3 separate regions of the Homo sapiens genome follow, and all the other regions are linked to region 2. The links are contacts of gene promoters, found by promoter capture Hi-C in blood cells and fetal thymus (Javierre and others, 2016). All regions are on one chromosome and are shown on one strand. Each heading gives the region's core, a stretch centred on a gene start or on the middle of the fragment in contact. The rest is flanking DNA. Distances are from core to core; before and after follow the strand shown. Region 1 overlaps NAXD (NAD(P)HX dehydratase). Region 2 holds the start of PRECSIT (p53 regulated carcinoma associated Stat3 activating long intergenic non-protein coding transcript). Region 3 overlaps ING1 (inhibitor of growth family member 1).

Region 1 (3,363 bases), core at 131-2,630, 240 kb before region 2:
AGAGCATCTAGATACAGAGTGTCGATAGGTGCACTCACAAACCCTGAGTTAGACACAGAGTGCTGATTGGTGTATTTACAAACCTTGAGCTAGATACAGAGTGCCGATTGGTGTATTTACAATCCCTGACCTAGACATAAAGGTTCTCCAAGGCCCCACCAGAGCAGCTAGATACAGAGTGTCGATTGGTGCATTCACAAACCCTGAGCTAAACACAGGGTGCTGATTGGTGCACTCACAAACCCTGAGCTAGACACAGGGTGCTGATTGGTGTGTTTACAATCCCTGAGCTAGATATAAAGACTCTCCACATCCCCACCAGACTCAGGAGCCCAGCTGGCTTCACCCAGTGGATCCCGCACCAGGGCTGCAGGTGGAGCTGCCTGCCAGTCCTGCGCCGTGCGTTCGCATTCCTCAGCCCTTGGGTGGTCGATGGGACTGGGTGCCGTGGAGCAGGGGGTGGTGCTCGTCGGGGAGGCTCGGGCCGCACAGGAGCCCATGGAGGGGGTGGGAGGCTCAGGCATGGCGGGCTGCAGGTCCCGAGCCCTGCCCGGCGGGAAGGCAGCTAAGGCCCGGTGAGAAATTGAGCACAGTGCCGGTGGGCTGGCACTGCTGCAGGACCCAGTACACCCTCTGCAGCCGCTGGCCCGGGTGCTAAGTCCCTCATTGCCCCGGGCCAGCAGGGCTGGCCGGCTGCTCCGAGTGCGGGGCCCGCCAAGCCCACGCCCACCCGGAACTCCAGCTGGCCCGCAAGCGCTGCAGGCAGCCCCAGTTCCCGCTCGCGCCTCTCCCTCCACACCTCCCTGCAAGCTGAGGGAGTGGGCTCCAGCCTTGGCCAGCCCAGAAAGGGGCTCCCACAGTGCAGTGGTGGGCTGAAGGGCTCCTCAAATGCCGCCAAAGTGGGAGCCCAGGCAGAGGAGGTGCTGAGAGCAAGCGAGGGCTCTGAGGACTGCCAGCATGCTGTCACCTCTCATTTTGTTTAATGTTTTCTATTTTAATGTTTTGTATTATCAGGTGTCTGTCAAGTCAGGATCACTTTACATGCTACTGCAGTGTATAATCTTGTCACAATGTATTGGCTCATAATAATAAAAACCACCAAATATTACATATATGTGTGTGTATCTATACATGTAGTTTTTTTTTTTTAATAGAAAACCTTTGAAACCTTCACTGTAATCCTATCAGGGAAAAATGATTCCCTGTTTATTATTGTTGTTATTTTAAAACGTGTAAGTAAAGTGATATGAAAAATACATAATGACTAATGATTTGGGGAATTCTCAGGAATTCAGATTTCCTGCCTCCGAATGCTGCGTATTAGTATCTGTTGGAGAACTGGATGCCCTTGCTGGGGCGGGGGCTGTCTTCATGGGTTAGCCTAGGAGCCCAGCTGTTGTTCATAGCGTTTCCAGTGGGCTTCGCCTTTCAGAGTTCCCAGTGTCCTGCCTTGTTTACGGGCTCTGCGAGTTCATTGGGTCTTTCTGCTTCTCTATTTTATTCATTTACTTGATTATTTTCCATTTATTGTTTGATGGCCTGATGTTGCATTTTATTAAGAGTCTGCTCAATTTTCTGTCACTCTTGGGAAAAGTGTCTTAGTCGGTTTTGCGCTGCTGTAGCCGTACCACAGACTGGGTAATTGATAATGAACAGGCGTTTACTGGCTCACAGTTCTGAAGGTGGATGTCCAACATCAAGGTGCCGGCATCTGGCGAGGGCAGAAGGGCAGGAGAGAGACCCTTATGCCTCTTTTAAAGGTCATTAAACCAACCCATGAGGACACTGCCACATCACCTTTTAAAGGCCCCACCTCCCAGGACCCTTCCCTTGGCAATTAAGTTTCACCATGAGTTTTGAGAAGACACATACCCACACCATAGCAGCAGGCATGGTGCTCAGTCTGGTTTTCTCTTCTGGCAGGGCATTTTGGAAGTGTCAAAGGCCAGGGACATCCCTGTTGTCATCGACGCGGTGAGTTGACTTCTCTCCTCCTGGCTCGGACTCCCGGAAGGCCTGTGCAGTGAGCACGGCTCCTTGTTCTGTGCAGGATGGCCTGTGGCTGGTCGCTCAGCAGCCGGCCCTCATCCATGGCTACCGGAAGGCTGTGCTCACTCCCAACCACGTGGAGTTCAGCAGACTGTATGACGCTGTGGTGAGTCAGTGGACCCCCTGGAGGGTAGATGCAAGCCCTGTTCGTCCTGAAGAGGGTGAAGGACGAGCTCCATGCTTCTGCCCAGCCTGTCCCTGTGGACACACCTGCAAGTAATCGCTGTGCCTCTCCCAGCGGATGGCGCGTCTTCCCATTAATGCGCTTGGATTGGATGAACGATGGTGTAGTGGGCTTGGGACAGGCAGGGACTCGGGTCAGTCAGCCCCTCCTGCAGTGCACTCTGGACAGGTCACTTTGTCTGTGTCCTGAGTGCCTCATCTGTAATGTGATGATGGCATCAGCTTCACGGGGTTGTGAGGATGAGATGAGGAAACCTATGTAAAGCCGTGAGTCCCCACATGGTAAGTGTCCCATCAATGTTAGTGCCCAGTACGACTGGAATTTGTATTACTCCTGCAAAGCTCTCAGAACCCAGTCTTGGGTGGTCCTCCTTCAGCCTGCTCTGATGAGGTAGAGGATGGGCACTGGAGCAGGCACCGTGTCAGCACCTGCTCGGAGGACTCACTGCAGGTGATATCCTGGGCATCCTCCCACCTACATGGCCTTTAACAGGTGCCTGGGTGATCCCTTTAGACACGAGAGCATGAGTCTCATGGCGGATGGGACAGGGCTATCTGTCGTCGTGTGTCTGAGGAAGACTTTGCTTTTTCTCTGTCTTCCTGTGTTGTCATAGCTCAGAGGCCCTATGGACAGCGATGACAGCCATGGATCTGTGCTAAGACTCAGCCAAGCCCTGGGCAACGTGACGGTGGTCCAGAAAGGAGAGCGCGACATCCTCTCCAACGGCCAGCAGGGTGAGTGGCGGCTGCCCTCTGTGCATGGGCCAGTGCCAGGTCAGTCAGCATGGCCACACCGAGCATGAGCCCTGGAAGACCTCTCCCGTGCACACCCGTGTTCACACACATTCACACAGGGATTCCTGATGAGCTCGTCAACCACACTTTCTTCAGAGTCCATGTTTTGACTTTTCACTGTTTTGCCAGGGGAGGTGACAGTGGTGAGGGCAGGCTTTCGAGCCGTGGGCCTTACCCGTTGGTTGAATTCCCTTGCCTCAGTTATGAGAAGCAGTCTGGCGGGAGGGTGCCTGCAACAGCAGGGCACAGTGCAGGGTCCCGCGTCTCCAGCTGCCACCTTCATCTCACCTGTGGCATCCACCATCCATGCAGTTATTTGGGTATTTTATTGCATTT
Region 2 (3,585 bases), core at 407-2,906:
GACGCTCTGTCTCAAAACAAAGAAACAAAAACAAACAAACCTTCAGTCCCAAGCAAATTGGGACAGTTGGTGACCCTGGTGGAGCACATGCTGTAAGATTATTTCCTAAACTATGAGTGGATAAGAATTGTTCTGAGTCTGTCCCTGTTCAGAGTCCTCATTCTTTTTCCTTTTCCTGTCAAAGCTAGTTTGATTCCTAGCAGGATTCTAGGTTAAACAACGGTTTCTTCTCAGACCTCTGGAATAGGTCCCATTGGCAGGCCACCCACATTGTCCTGAAAGTGTTCCTGACTGTCCACACGCATTAGTCCACAGGACGGAGCCACACAGCCAGGACGGAGCCGCACATCTGTTCTCCTCCACCTTTGGTCAATTCTATGCCCACCTGGTTCTTGGAAATGAACCAGGATATGTAACAAAATCCATTTTTTTCTCCTTAGGATGAAATGATGTTGAAGGAAAGAATGTTATTTGAGGACCTGCTGTCTGTCCTTTTGTTTAAAGTTGCCATTTCCAAGAACCTAATGACGACCTTAAGTGAGGAATTAGTGTGCTCATAAAAAAGTTTTAGACGTTTTACGCTTACAGGAAAATGGTGAGGATAATGCAGAGAGTTCTCATGCAACAGAAATTTCTACTATTATTCATGTCTTACATGAGATGGGCACACCCTGTCCCCGTGTCCGAGGACTGGACAAGCCCACTCTAGCGGTGCACAGCTGGGGCGTGCCCCTCGGCAGTGGGGTGACCTGGCCCTCTCGCCCAGTGATGTCCTCATGCTTTGTGTCACGTGAACCACAAAATCTGAGTGAAAACGAAAGTCCATGAATGTCCAGGGCAGCTACCAGACGTGCGCAAGTAAGTCTCATGAAACAAAAGCTTCCCTGGATGGGGACAAAACACACTTCCTTCCGCTTGTCACCATCCCTGGCTCCTTCAACTCGGTCCGTCTCCATGACGTGTTCCTCTGCTTCTCTTCCTCCGAATAAAAAGGAAACATGCCTCGTAAGGACAGCAGTGCCGGGCTGGAGCCGCCTCTCCCCATCAGCACTAATGGCGTGGTACCTCTCTGCCCGCCCTTCTCTCTCCTCACCTGTGTTTTCCTTTCTTCCCGAACCTCCTCTTGGCTGAGGCCTCATGGGAAAAATAGGGGCACTCGCCCCATGGGCCCCAGGGAAATGCCAGTACCCCGGGCCGGAGAGTAGCCGAGCCCCAGACTGAGTCGTTGCTCCATGGGCCACAAAAGCTGGTTCCCGCACAGCAGCCGCCCTGGGCCCCGGCAGACACGACAGAATGGGTTTCCTTACACAAACCGCGCTTGGCAGATGTTGCCTGAAAGACAGGAACTCCGAAATTCCAACAGAACGGCCAGCGGGTGGCTCTCTGCTCTGGCAGGCTGCAGGCTCTCAGGGACGCCATGTCTCCGGAAGGTCAGCGTCAAATGCTGGTGAGAACTCACTCACTCCTCACCTCCGTGACAGGCACGTGTGTTGGCTCCACCAGGGTGCAGAAGCCACACGAGCTGCTTTAACAGAAGACATTCATGTAAAGCACAGCTCTCGGGCCGTGGGGCTGTTAACCAGGAGGGTGCACAGTGCATGCACCGCCCAGGTTCCGGTCAGTTTTGCTCCCACAGTCATCACCCTGGAGGGCGTTTCATGTTGTTGCTGTGAGAATTTGCCGTTGCTTGAGTGAGTCATGCTGACGTGGCCCCTACTCCAGGGTTTCCAGTCTTTCTGCTCCTAGACTGACTCAGCGCTGGTCATTAGGTGCTGTCCATCAAGGGGAACTTGCCCTGGGCATGGAAAATGCTGACCAGCTCCCTGTTTTGGAAAATGACCTCATCCCCAGGCTGCCCACAGGAGGCGGAGCATGCCAATGCCGTTCCTTACTGGTGTGTATATTACTGTTTTTGTCCTTTTCATGCAGCCTGCGGAGTGTACCTCTATAGCTGTCATTTCACTCCTGTGTTTTCTCGGCCTTGGGCGAGGATCCCATGCTGCTGGTAATGAAAGCTGCCTGTTCCCTCGGTTGTTTTCACAGTCCCTCCTTTCTCTTCCAGAGAGAGGTTTTGTTTTGTTTTGTTTTGTTTGAGACAGGATCTCACTCTGTCACCTAGGCTGGAGTGCAGTGGCATGATCTTGGCTCCCTGCAACCCTGCCTCCCAGGCTCCCATCCTCCCTGCAACCCATCGTCCCACCTGTGAAGGGAAAATAAATCTTGGGCCCCCAAACTCAAGCCAAAGGGAAAAGTCAAGCTGGGAACTGGGTCATGCAAACCTGCCTCCCCTTTTGGTCCCTAAATAAGATGCTGCAAGATGAAAAACTGCACACCTCCCCTATATTTTGTCCACAAGGAAATTCCTAGTGAGCTCCGCAATCTTTACTGTAAGGTGTTTCTGTTAAGATTTCACCACAGCAATGCAAATCGATAGCTCATCTTTACAGGTGCAGTCAACCCCTGCCCGCCAGACACAAATGCAAACCTGATTGTTCCCCTGCCCCCTTTGTCTAAGTCATCTTGTGTAAAAATAATGCAGATTCAATGAGCCAAACGCATGACTATTTTTCTCTACCCGCCTCTTAGATGAAAATTGTGTACTTGTCATTATCTCACCCTTTCCCCTTTAAATTTGGAGCCCTCAAAATCATCTTCGGAGAAAGGTACAGACTGTCTCCCGAGTGTTCGTCCTTAACTTTGGCGAGTAAACCTCCTAAAATGATTGAGACTTGTCTTGTCATTTTTCTCAATTGATACACCTCAGTCTCCCAAGTAGCTGGGACTACAGGCATGCGCCACCAAGCCCAGCTAATTTTTGTATTTTTTGTAGAGACAGGGTCTCACGTTGTTGCCCAGGCTGGTCTTGAACCCCTGAGCTCAAACAACCTGCCCGCCCCGGCCTCCCAAAGTGCTGGGATTACAGGCGTGAGCCACTACGCCTAGCCAAGAGAATTTTAAAACCATTGAGGAAATAGTGCCATTGTTGTGAATCAGAGACTTGATGTGCTATTTCATGTAGTGGTTCCTGTCGTTTTGCTTGCAAAATTGGCTTCAATTATCTTGAATTATATGAACTGTCAGAAAAGCCCTGCGGCAGATGATGGTAACGAAAAGACATCCTTTAGCAGACAGGGAATAGGACTGATTCACTGATGCATCTGAGTTGCAATTTTTTTAGCTGCTTCTAAAAATCTTGTAATTAAATTCACTGGTGAGAGCACAGTAGCCTTCATAAATGGGAAAACAGAAACATCGAAGTTGTTCTCAAACCATCCTGGAATCTTAAAGTTCAGGGGGCACCTGGCAGAGGGGAGCCACAGAAAGACGGCAGGGAAGGGAGGGTTAAGGCGAGGCCGGGATAAGCCAAGCAGGGCTGTTCTGGTTTATCTTTCTTACTTTGTTCTTAAGAAAACTTGCTGAATGTAGTTGGCTTCAGATCTTCCTGTTTTAAAAAAAACGCAGTAAGATGAAAAACCTGATGTGTCCTCTGCCCTTCCCCGTCCCTCCCGCCTCTCCCTGCGGGGGGTGAGCACTCCTCAGAGTGCCTGGTGGAGAGGCCCCTGCCCTCCCCTGCACGGAGCTGGG
Region 3 (3,620 bases), core at 746-3,245, 150 kb before region 2:
TCACCACTCGGAGTTTACTAATGTTTACAAGGCTGCGCAGTAGGGAAACGGAAGAGTTGGGTGGGGGCAAAAAAAAAAATTGACCGCTATCCCCGAAAGTACTAGACGCCTCTGCCGGGAAGGCGCCCCTGCGCGTTCTATCCGAGACGTAGCTTCGCAGCGAATTTTATAGGAACTTCATTAGCATATTATGGAACGTCCCGCCTCAGCCCCCCAGTAGTTGGCTGTGATGTCCTTCGTGGAATGTCCTTATCATTCCCCTGCGGAACGATTGGTCGCTGAGGCGGATGAAGGCGGGCCTAGCGCAATAACTGGTATGGGTCTGTGTTTCCGCTGTCTTCTTTTTTCTTTTTCGGGGAGGAGCGGGGTGGAGGGTGGACGAGTTGATTTGAACGTCTTCGGGTCGCTCGGCCTCCAGCCTTGGATTGGTTCTTCTCGCTGCTGGGGCGGGCCGTGCTCTTCCGCCCTGCGGTGTGGTTGGTTCTCCTCCTGGCCTCCGCCCTCCAAATCGGCGATTCCCATAGGCGGCGGCTCTCGGGGTGCGGGGCGAGTCTCCCGCTGGCCTCCTCCCCATTGGCTGGAGGCCTGGCGGGTGTCGCCCCGGCCCCTCTCCCCGCTCAGCCCGGCCACTTTCGGGCGCGGATTTATAGCAGTAGCAGTGATCCCGGGCCTGTGGGCTCGGGGCCGGGGCTGCAGTTCGGACCGCCTCCCGCGACCCGCGGGGCCGGCTCGGAGACAGTTTCAGGCCGCATCTCTGCTGACCCGAGGGTGGGGCCGCGCGTGGCCGTGGAAACGTGAGTGACTGGGGCTGCGTCCACGAGGGGGACCCTCGGCGCAGAAACTTTTCTGGAAGGTGCTGTCCTCGGGCCGGACGGGCCCCGTGGGGTGACCCTGGGGCTCCGGACGGAAGGAAGGCAGGGGCTGAGACCACTTTGATCGTTCGACGATAGAAAAAAGTAGCGCGGGGCGGGGTGCAGGGTTCCAGCTGTCCAGACAGCAAAGTTCATGGAGCCACTTTGTCCTCCTGTCGTTGCTGGGGAGAGCCTGGCTTGCTGCTTGCTTCATGTTCACCTAGGGTGATGAACTTTTTGGCTTCAGGAAAGATCACAGTCCTGCCCCCCCGGGAGTACTGGAGCGGCGCAGCTGGGAGCGCCGAGAAGCGAGCGAATCTGTCGCAAGGGTCACAGCTCCTTGGACTTCGGTGTAAATGCTGAGCTCTGCCGCGTAGTTCTGAAAGACTTCCACAGACCTACTCTGTAGGAAGTCAAACGTCTTTTGCTTAGTAGGCATCAGTTGTATGTTAATTCATAAACTTGGATTATAATTAGTTTGTCGATTTAAAATGGTGTTTGAGGTTGCTTGAATTATTTTTCAAACATTATCATAAAAATACCCACCCACCCCCTGGGAAGTTCGCTTCATAAAGAACTTCAGTGCAACCCGTATGTAAAATTAAAATACATTTAAAATAATTGGACAAACCAATTTAAATGTTGCTACAACCCCATTTAATCTGTAAATTGCATGTGCTGCTGCTTTCCATGGTAATGTTGGTGTGGAATATGTTTGGAAAAAAGGCAGTAGTGTCTGAAGCTGAGTTGCTGGCATTGAAAAAGCAGAGTGTCTGGAAGGATGGCTTCCTATTTAGCAGTGGTGTTGTTCCTGTTTATAAATATTTGTACTTAGTGGCTTTGTTGATAAAATACTTTGCTTGGAGTATCAAAGAAATATTAGGTAACAGAAATACTTCTTGGTAATTTTGCGATGGGATATCTGTTTCTCTTGCCCACAAATTAGGCTTCACCTGGATGGAAGCTTGCTTGTGATGTAAAATAACTTCTGTGTTATTAAATTTTAAATTTATATGATACAGTTTTCTGTGAAATGACAATATTGTCTTTAGAACTTTGATTACTGATGAAAAGAAGTGATACCATTTTGTAACCCTAAATCCATTTAAAAATAAATGGTACACATATTTTAACATTATGATAAATAAGTTGAATAAATTGGTATTACTTGGATACGTTGAACACAGCTATTTATTTTTATAATTAATTACTATATGAGACTAGGGCTTTCCTCCTGGTGGCAGGCAGCCTGCATTGTTCCTCTAGGAGTCTTCAAAGCTGTCTTTAGTTTGAGAATATACTCTGGAAAATATTACCATTTAGAGAAGCTTCAGCGTTGGCCTGAGTTCTTATGTTTACTCTAGTGTTAGGTATATGTCTTATAACTATTTGGAGATAAGATCTGGAAAGGAAGGGGGTAACATTTTAGACAATCCCTCCCACTCTCAGCCCCTCCCCTAGTTTACAAGTAGTATTGTTGGCCAGGCACGGTGGCTCACTCCTGTAATCCCAGCACCATGGGAGACCGAGGCGGGCGGATCACCTGAGGTCGAGAGTTGGGAGACCAGCCTGTCCAACATGGAGACACCCTGTCTCTACTGAAAATACAGAATTAGCCGGGCGTGGTATTACATGCCTGTAATCCCAGCTACTCGGGAGGCTGAGGCAGGAGAATCGCTTGAACCTGGGAGGCAGGTTGCAGTGAGCTGAGATCGCGCCATTGCACTCCAGCCTGGGCAACAAGAGTGAAACTCCGTTTCAACAACAACAAAAAAAGGTAGTATTGTTGCCTTGTTTAAAGAGACTGCAAAAAGGTTTTAGGAGAATAATCTGGTACTGTTTAATTTAATGGTTACTGTTTGAGGAAAAAGAACTCTGGAATTTCTGTGTATTTAAGTAGCCTTTTTAGCAAGGCTGTTTACTTCAACTAGATTTTTTAATAGCTTTTGTTTCTTGAGAAATTGCCTAATTACACTTGCCAAATTACACTTTAAAATCATATACACTGTCCTCTAACATGCCCAGGAAGGTTTACATTTAAATACTGAAGAGGTTTTCTTTTGTTTTTGATAACATTTTAAAGTCCATTGACTTTAACAGATGTGAAGATGTTTTTGTTTAAGCAGTAGATGCAAAAGTAAAACCTACCAGCTTCGCTTTAAAGCAAGGCTAGTGCATTCACTGCAGTTAAAAAATAATAATAATAGCCCATCACAGTGGTGCTTCTGTAGTCCCAGCTACTCAGGAGGCTGAGGTGGGAGGGTCCCTTGAACCTGGGAGGTCGAGGCTGCAGTGAGCCGAGATTGCACCACTGCACTCCAGCCTGGGCGACAGAGACGGACCTTGTCTCCAAAATAATAACAAGTCGTAATAATAATAAAGCAAAGCTAGGTTTTCTGGATTATTGTGGCAGAACTGTTCTTGCTGTCACTAATACAGAGGGATAACATGCTAGAATAAATGTGGGGACTGAAACTGAGGACCTAAGTCACAAAGTATCCTGGACCTTTACTGTTAACCCGGTTCTTTAAATCATAGAGAGCTATTATATAAATTTATACACATTCTCTCATTTAACAGGGTATTCTAGATGTTGGTATATTAAAATAAAGAAAATAAAGACCTTTTTTATTTGAAATATTCAAATAATTTATAATATATTTTATTAATGTTTGTATATTGTGTATAAATGTAATAAATACCATGTTTATATAATGTTATATGTATATTAATAATTGTATTCAAATAGAAACATTTGAGTAAAAATGA

What was found. Contacts are between HindIII fragments. The CHiCAGO score rates a contact against its expected background, and 5 or more counts as called.
Region 1: a fragment that was not itself captured here is called in contact with the fragment with the promoter of PRECSIT in region 2 in 1 of 17 cell types (naive B cells); the score reaches 5.2 in naive B cells.
Region 3: a contact is called between a fragment that was not itself captured here and the fragment with the promoter of PRECSIT in region 2, in 1 of 17 cell types (endothelial precursors). The highest score is 6.5, in endothelial precursors.

What each region holds. Positions count from the first base shown.
Region 1 is chr13:110,632,622-110,635,984 of GRCh38, forward strand. It overlaps NAXD (NAD(P)HX dehydratase), which reads left to right. Exons shown (of 10, transcript NM_001242882.2): 6 at 1,924-1,974; 7 at 2,051-2,155; 8 at 2,847-2,967. Among named protein-coding and RNA genes, the nearest start is that of NAXD-AS1, 18 kb to the left of the region's middle. RefSeq lists enhancers at 1-607, 1,602-2,431, 2,432-3,260. The HindIII fragment of the contact is 6,807 bases long and covers 1-3,363 here.
Region 2 is chr13:110,868,652-110,872,236 of GRCh38, forward strand. It overlaps PRECSIT (p53 regulated carcinoma associated Stat3 activating long intergenic non-protein coding transcript), which reads right to left and starts at 1,657. Exons shown (of 1, transcript NR_027701.1): 1 at 1-1,657. RefSeq lists enhancers at 714-1,400, 758-1,957. The HindIII fragment of the contact is 3,703 bases long and covers 878-3,585 here.
Region 3 is chr13:110,715,215-110,718,834 of GRCh38, forward strand. The region is part of intron 1 of ING1 (inhibitor of growth family member 1); the gene reads left to right. Among named protein-coding and RNA genes, the nearest start is that of ING1, 3.3 kb to the left of the region's middle. RefSeq lists enhancers at 293-462, 640-1,333, 1,203-1,292 and silencers at 553-832, 863-912. The HindIII fragment of the contact is 364 bases long and covers 1,814-2,177 here.